2 separate regions of the Homo sapiens genome follow, and region 1 is linked to region 2. Evidence: promoter capture Hi-C in 16 types of primary human blood cells and fetal thymus (Javierre and others, 2016). All regions are on one chromosome and are shown on one strand. Each heading gives the region's core, a stretch centred on a gene start or on the middle of the fragment in contact. The rest is flanking DNA. Distances are from core to core; before and after follow the strand shown.

Region 1 (3,611 bases), core at 731-3,230, 5.2 Mb after region 2:
ATCCTTTCAAATTTAGTCTAGCCAGATGTTTTGTGTCCTCTATCCCCTCAACCTTGTTTTTTTCCTTTGCTTGGCATTTATTTTATATTGAAGTATAATTGTGGTATCAATAAACTGCACATTTTTGAACTGCACACTTTGAAAAATGTTATATATGTATACAATCATGACACAATCACAGTCAAAATAATGAACACATCCATAACCCCCAAAAACTTCCTCAAGCCCCTCTGTATCCATCTTTCCCCCCGCCTTACCCAATCCCTGCCCCCAGGCAACAGCAATCTATAATGCTGTCATTATAGTTTCTACTTTCTAGAGTTTTATATAAATGGAATCATACAGTATGATGATTAACTGAACAAAATTATTTTGAATTATTTTGGGATTGTCAACTAAAGAAAAAAAATCAAGCTTTTATTTTAAGAGATGGAGTCTCACTCACTTTGTCACCCAGGCTGAAGAGACTGAAAAAAAAAAAAGATTCATCTGTGTTTTTGCATGTATCAATAATTCATCCTTTTTTGTTGCACAGCAGTATTCCATTAAGCAGATGTATAACAATTTTTTGATCCACTTCATTCATCTATTGATGAACATTTGGGTTGTTTCCTTTTTTTTGGCTATTGAAAATAAAGTGTTAACTTTTTGGAAACTGTCTCCTGAAAAAGCTAAACATAAATTTACTAAATAAGCCACTGATTCCTCTCATAGGTACATACCTAAGAGAAATATACGTACACACAAAATCTTGTGCACTAACGTTCATGGAAACATTATTCATAATAGCCAAAAAATGGAGACAACCCAAGTGTCCACCAACTGATGAACAAATCAACACAATGTGGTATATCCATAACAATGCAATATTATAAGCAATAAATAGGAATATAGGAGGGATACATGGACGAACCTTGAAAACATTATGCTAAATGAAGTAAGTCTGACTTAGGCCACCGTGTATTTTGTGATTCCACTTACATGAAATGTCCAGAAAAGGCAAATTCATAGAGACAAAATGTAGTGTTTGCCAGGGGCTGGAGAGAGGTGGGGCCGGGGGTCTGGGGAGTGATTGCTGATGGGTAGTTTCTTTTGTAGGTGATGAAAATGTTCTAAAATTAAATAGTAGTGATGGTTGTGCAACTCTGAAAATACTAAAAACTACTGAATTGTGTATTTATTTTATGAGACGGAGTCTCGCTCTGTCGCCCAGGCTGGAATGCAGTGGCATGATCTGGGCTTACTGCAACCTCCTTCTCCCAGGTTGAAGTGATTCTCCTGCCTCAGCCTCCCGAGTAGCTGGGATTACAGGCGCGCACCACTATGCCCCGGTAATTTTTGTATTTTTAGTAGAGACGGGGTTTTGCCATGTTGCCCAGGCTGGTCTCCAGTTCCTGACCCCAAGTGATCCGCCCACCTCGGCCTCCCACAGTGCTGGGATTACAGGCGTGAGATCCACTGCGCCCAGCCAAAGCTGCTATTTTTTAAAAGCGGCAATGAACATTCTTGTACAAGTCTTTGTACGGACATACAGTTTGGGTAGAAGAATAGCTGGGTCATATGCTGGGTGGATACTGAACTTTTTCAGAAACTGCCGCTCCTCTGCAAAGTGACTGCACCATTTTATGTTCCCAACAGCAGTACAGGAGAGTTTCAGGTCTACACAAACCCATCCATACTTGGTAAGACCCAACAAGCTTAACATTTCAAGGGAAGGTGGACTTAGGGAGGCGCCAGCGGGAGGCAACATCAATGCAGTTAGCTACACGGGCCTGAAAACTGGAGGCCGCGACAAGCGTCGCTGAGTGGAGGCCCAGTAAGTCCCACCCACTAGGCCAGCCCGAGCGCGTCTGCCACGCCCTGCTGCATTCCGCGGCGAGAGCGCGCGATAGGATTGGCTCTCAAGGCCCCGCCCCAACAGGTCGCCGCTCAGGGTGACCCGGAAGCAGTTGCGCCAGCAGCGTCGCGCGGCCCAGTTCCCTTTTCCGGTCGGCGTGGTCTTGCGAGTGGAGTGTCCGCTGTGCCCGGGCCTGCACCATGAGCGTCCCGGCCTTCATCGACATCAGTGAAGAAGATCAGGTGTGCTTCGGTCTACGGGTGCCGCCACGGTGGGGTGGGGGATGTCCTAGTAGCGCAAGGGACCGCTGCCGAGCCTGGGCCGGGCGGCCGGGGCTGACACCCGCAGCTGTTCTACACGCGAGAATGGGGAGGCCGGTGGCTGGGGCGCGCGTTCCTGGCCTCGATTCGCACCAGCTCGCCGGCCGGCGGTCCCAGCGCGGGGCCCGACGCTTCACCGCCAGCTCCCTGGTCGGCGTCGGGACTCATTTCTGACGACATAGTACTTTTAGACTGATGAGGAATGATGTCTGCTTCCGTCCGTCAAATGCAGCCACATTCGGAGTGGGAGGTGGTGAATCTGTAGTTAGCATAAGCAGGGTAGGGAAAAGTAATTTTGTGCTAAAGATCAAAATGCCGGGCCGGGCGCGGTGGCTCACGCCTTTAATCCCAGCACTTTGGGACGCCGAGGCGGGCAGATCACGAGGTCAGGAGATCGAGACCATCCTGGCTAACACGGTGAAACCCTGTCTCTATTAAAAATACAAAAAAATTACCCGGGCGCGGTGGCACGCGCCTGTAGTCCCAGCTACTGCCGAGGCTGAGGCAAGAGAATCGCTTGAACCCGCGAGGCGGAGTTTGCAGTGAGCCAAGATCGCGCCACTGCACTCCAGCCTGGGCGACAGAGCGAGAGTCCCTCTCAAAAAAAAAAAAAAAAAAAAAGATCAAAACGCCCGTATTACTGTGCGATCACAGGCGAAGACGACCCGTATTTTACACTTGCTTTCTATTCCTACTTGTATGAGGGTGAGAGTTGTTCTGTACCCCGGAAGTATGGTATCAGTTCAGCTCTTAAATTCTGTGAGGCATACACCTGATGGACCATCCTGATATTTTTAAATTTCCCGTTTGGCGTTTGCTCTTTGGTATACAGGGCTGATGGTTCTCATTTTCCCCATAACAAAAGTTTAACCTTATTTGGTAGGAGTTGAACACGACATCGTATTCTTTAAGTTAATTTTGTATTGCTGAAAATTCTTCTGTGAAGTCCTAACTTTGTCGTTTTATTTCTGTTACTCCACTAACACGGAAGTAACTTCCAAATGATTGGATATCATAAACTTCGCATGGAAGTTTACTTGTCTAAGACAACTTACAGAATTGCGGGAGTGAGTTCCCCCTCTCTCCTCCCCCCGCCCCATGGTAGGAATGCAGTTCCGATGCTCTGAAGAGCAAAGTAAGAAGGGAAAATGCAAAAGGCGGAGAAAAGGTCAAGGATGGGGAGGTTAAGCACAGATAGGAAGATATGAAAGACAAAAAGATACCTGATTAGAAATGGAAGCATGTTACCAACAGTTGGCTGTTAGGTTAACTGAGAAAGTGTTTGGAATTTTTTTTTTTTTAACATACAAAGTGAATGGAGGAAGTTCTTGTCATTGATCGTATCTTAAAGTGTCTTTTCTCAGGCTCTGCTTCTGTTCTTGTAACATCAGTATCGCTGTAGACAGTCCTTTCAGGGAAATATGAAATTGCTCAGGATTAGTTTAACTTTGGTG
Region 2 (3,466 bases), core at 8-2,507:
GTAATAAAGTTGATCAAGGAATAAAACTGACCTAATGGAGTTTTCGTTCTCGACCCTAGTTATTCAATATTGGCATTTAAAAACCTTTTATCAGAACATCTCTAGAATCAGTAACATCGAAACGCACTGAGCTGCCTTAGGGCCTCATAAAGAGGTAAGCTTGAGAAGCTGTTTTCCAATAGATATAACCAAACATAACTGTAGTGGGAAAAACACTAGTATGAAAGGGACCTGGAATCAGTGGTTTTCTTGGTACTTGATAGGTTTTCCATTCCTAACACTCCTCTGAAAATAGGGGAAAAATTTACCTCACAGGGTCATATTATCTCATTAATTCTCAAAGTTTCTAAGCTCAGAATCAGAAAGATACAATGAAAAGTTGTGTGTAAACTTCAGAACTTTTTCACTTTAACCTCTACGCATGGGAATCTAAATGTCATATACTTCTTTGTCCCCTTAAAATGTTTTCCTAAACAAAGTATACCCTTTTCTTGATGCGCCAGGGTCATCATTATGACCAACTGTGACATTATGCACTAGCAATGCTGGACCCCCCCAAGGGTATGAGGCAGAGTCAGATGGTGCTGGTGCTGGTGTTTGAACATAATTAAGTCCAGCGGCCTCATTTCTTACAGTGCCTTTTCATTACTGGAGCTGAGAAGCCATAATCGAGATGGGTAGAATTATATATAAATGTACAAATGTATAAAAGAGTGTCTCTCCCTTTAAGTTTTAGGGTATTGACTTAGTGACATCTTTTCATACAATTAGTACTTTGGCCATGGTATATTTGAGGTAATTATGTTTTGCTGGCTCTGGAAACTTATATAAGAGTCACTTTTGCTTAAATAATTCCATCACCAGTTAGCCCTGTGGCATATATTATGCAACTTTAAAAATTTATCCCTAGACATTAGTATTTACAGATGAAACAATATAATGTCTTAAATTTGCTTCAAAATAATGCAAGGGGCAGAGGGATTGGAGGGGATTAGTGAATAGGATGAAGATGAAACAAGGTTCACTACATGCTGCAGATAATTGTCAAAGCAGTGACAGGTATGGGGTGAAGGGTAGGGAGGTGGGGTAATTATACTACTCTACTTTTTGTTATGGAAATTTCAAGCATATATGAAATTTAAAACAAACACACACACAAAATTATGTCCCAAATGAAGAGGCATTGGGTTCTGGTTTGGGGTCAAATTTGCTGTGACTCAGGGATTCACTTAAATTTCATTAAGCCTTTTGTTTTCTCATCTGTAAAATGAGGACTTAATGATTGTAAATACTGAAGTATTTCTAAGCATCTGGGCAACTGACTACATTTAATATCATGCAGATTTTTTAATCATTTGCTTTTTAGATAAAGATTGAATCAATGGTTTTTCTGAAATTTCATAATCTGTTTTCCATGAGTATAGTTCAGACTTAGGATAAAACCTTATTTCTAAGTTTCAGCAAAATGTTCTTATATGTTTACAAATAAATATCAAAATAGTGTTTTCTAATGGTTACTTCCAACATTTCTTCTAATACTGTCCACTTACAAATATTTAATTTGCTTACTTTAAAACTAAATTCATTAATATACCTAGTTTTAAATTAAGGCAAAATAGATTGCTTTCTAGAAACTTTAATAATTCAAAACACTGAGTACAATATTGTATTTCATACCATATAGCACAAAGATTAACACTTTTATATATCTGTTATTCTAGTTTTTAAATGAATAAAATGAAAAGTTTTCAATAACCTGAATTTTGGAAAAAACCTTTTAATTAGGAGTTTCTTACCAAGTTATGATTTAATATTTATCAGATGTGTAAATATACATGATAGCAATTTTTAAAACTTGTAAATAGTTGGCCTTACAAAATTACAACACACTGTAAATAAATCCTTCCCACATTTTATACAAACTACATGATTTTGATATACAAAGATTCTGTTTTTATTACACTGACAATGTACAACAAAGACTATTTACAATGCAAAAAGTATATAAACCACAATTTAACAGTCTGCTACTGGCAGCCACTATAGTTTAGGAGGTAGCTTTAATTAAACGAAATGAACAGAAGCCACATTTCCCAACTTGTGTTCTAAAAATAATTTACATAAGATAAAAATTCATTATATGCACAGTATGTACAGTTTAATTATTAAACTGCAATCTAGCTGGATTTTTTTAGTATATTCAGAATAACTAATATGGCAGTGGGTTTGCTATTGATTTAGCACACTGTTCAAAAAACATATTGAACAATTATAACTTTAAGACTCCACCCAGTAATAGGTCTAAAGCCCATAGATGGGAATCAAGTAAAATTTTTAATTTTTAAAGACACAGGACTAAGCTTTATTCTTTCTTCTTCTATTTTTATTAATAACATATTATCTTGTTTAACCAGAGTTCAACCTCTGAGCTATTGAATAGGCTCTTTTATAAAAAATAGTATGGGGAAGATGTATGGAAATTTCCATTTAATAGCACAGGTTCAAGATAATCCAGCTCACTAAGAAATAAACATAAGTACTTCGTGTCATAATTACTCCCCGTTTCGTCTAATTAAATGCAAGTATTGACCACAGTTTACTTTCTATATAATCCAAGCTATTGCTAGGTGACATCCCAGCAAATTGGAAAATATTAGTAGAGCCAACGATATTAGGAAGTATTCATTAATGAGAACATTACATGAAGCCACCAAATCCCTCAGATACTATTAAACCCCCACATTAGTTAGTAGTTTAGCCAAATCGACTAAACCCACACAGCAATTAGCCTTTTACTTTTTTTCTAGTAGTGTAATCACAAAACACTTAAGAAAAAATTACTGATTGGACCAAAGCAATGTATAATGACTGAAAACAAATGTCCAGCTATTTTTTTAACCTAACAGCTGTTAATATTGTTTTAAAAACATCTTCAGGTTTTAGATTTATAAATTGCTTAAACAAAATTTATAGTTCTCTTATGTCAAGGATGGCAAGTGAAAACATAATAAAGTAATGCCTATGTATACTCTCACAGTTCTAGCTGGGACAGTCCCTTTTTTGGCCCTGCAGTAAGTTGTCCTGAGATTAAGGATGAAACATTAGGTAAAATTAGCAAGATATTTTCTTCAGTTATAGAAAATCACATTTTAAAATAGATTTTTAAAAAATATTAACAGCTGTTCTTTATCTTGTGCTTAATACACAAATAGGTATAAATTTGCTTCTTATGGATCAGAAAAAACTAACATTATATTGCTCTACTACACCTAAGATCCTTTTCAAGTCATATATTTGTTTCAAACAGATCATACATTGCTTGGACATTGCATTTTTCACCAATTTATAATTTAGGCACCTGTTCTTTGAAAATGACTGGTTTGAGAAATAAACTGCCACCTCTCCTTCTTCTAAGTGACACCAGGCAGTGATTACAGAAGTGCTTCCCAGATGAAAGATGAGAATA

What was found. The method cuts DNA at HindIII sites, captures the fragments that hold promoters and counts their contacts. A CHiCAGO score of 5 or more calls a contact.
Region 1: the fragment with the promoter of EIF3M here is called in contact with a fragment that was not itself captured in region 2 in 1 of 17 cell types (total CD8 T cells); the score reaches 6.6 in total CD8 T cells.

The regions. Positions count from the first base shown.
Region 1 is chr11:32,581,851-32,585,461 of GRCh38, forward strand. It overlaps EIF3M (eukaryotic translation initiation factor 3 subunit M), which reads left to right and starts at 1,981. Exons shown (of 11, transcript NM_006360.6): 1 at 1,981-2,079. The coding sequence starts at 2,038. RefSeq lists enhancers at 1,692-2,344, 1,987-2,136 and a silencer at 1,767-1,826. The HindIII fragment of the contact is 5,112 bases long and covers 1,696-3,611 here.
Region 2 is chr11:27,364,341-27,367,806 of GRCh38, forward strand. It overlaps LGR4 (leucine rich repeat containing G protein-coupled receptor 4), which reads right to left. Exons shown (of 18, transcript NM_018490.5): 18 at 1,621-3,466. Among named protein-coding and RNA genes, the nearest start is that of CCDC34, 2.9 kb to the left of the region's middle. The HindIII fragment of the contact is 2,201 bases long and covers 158-2,358 here.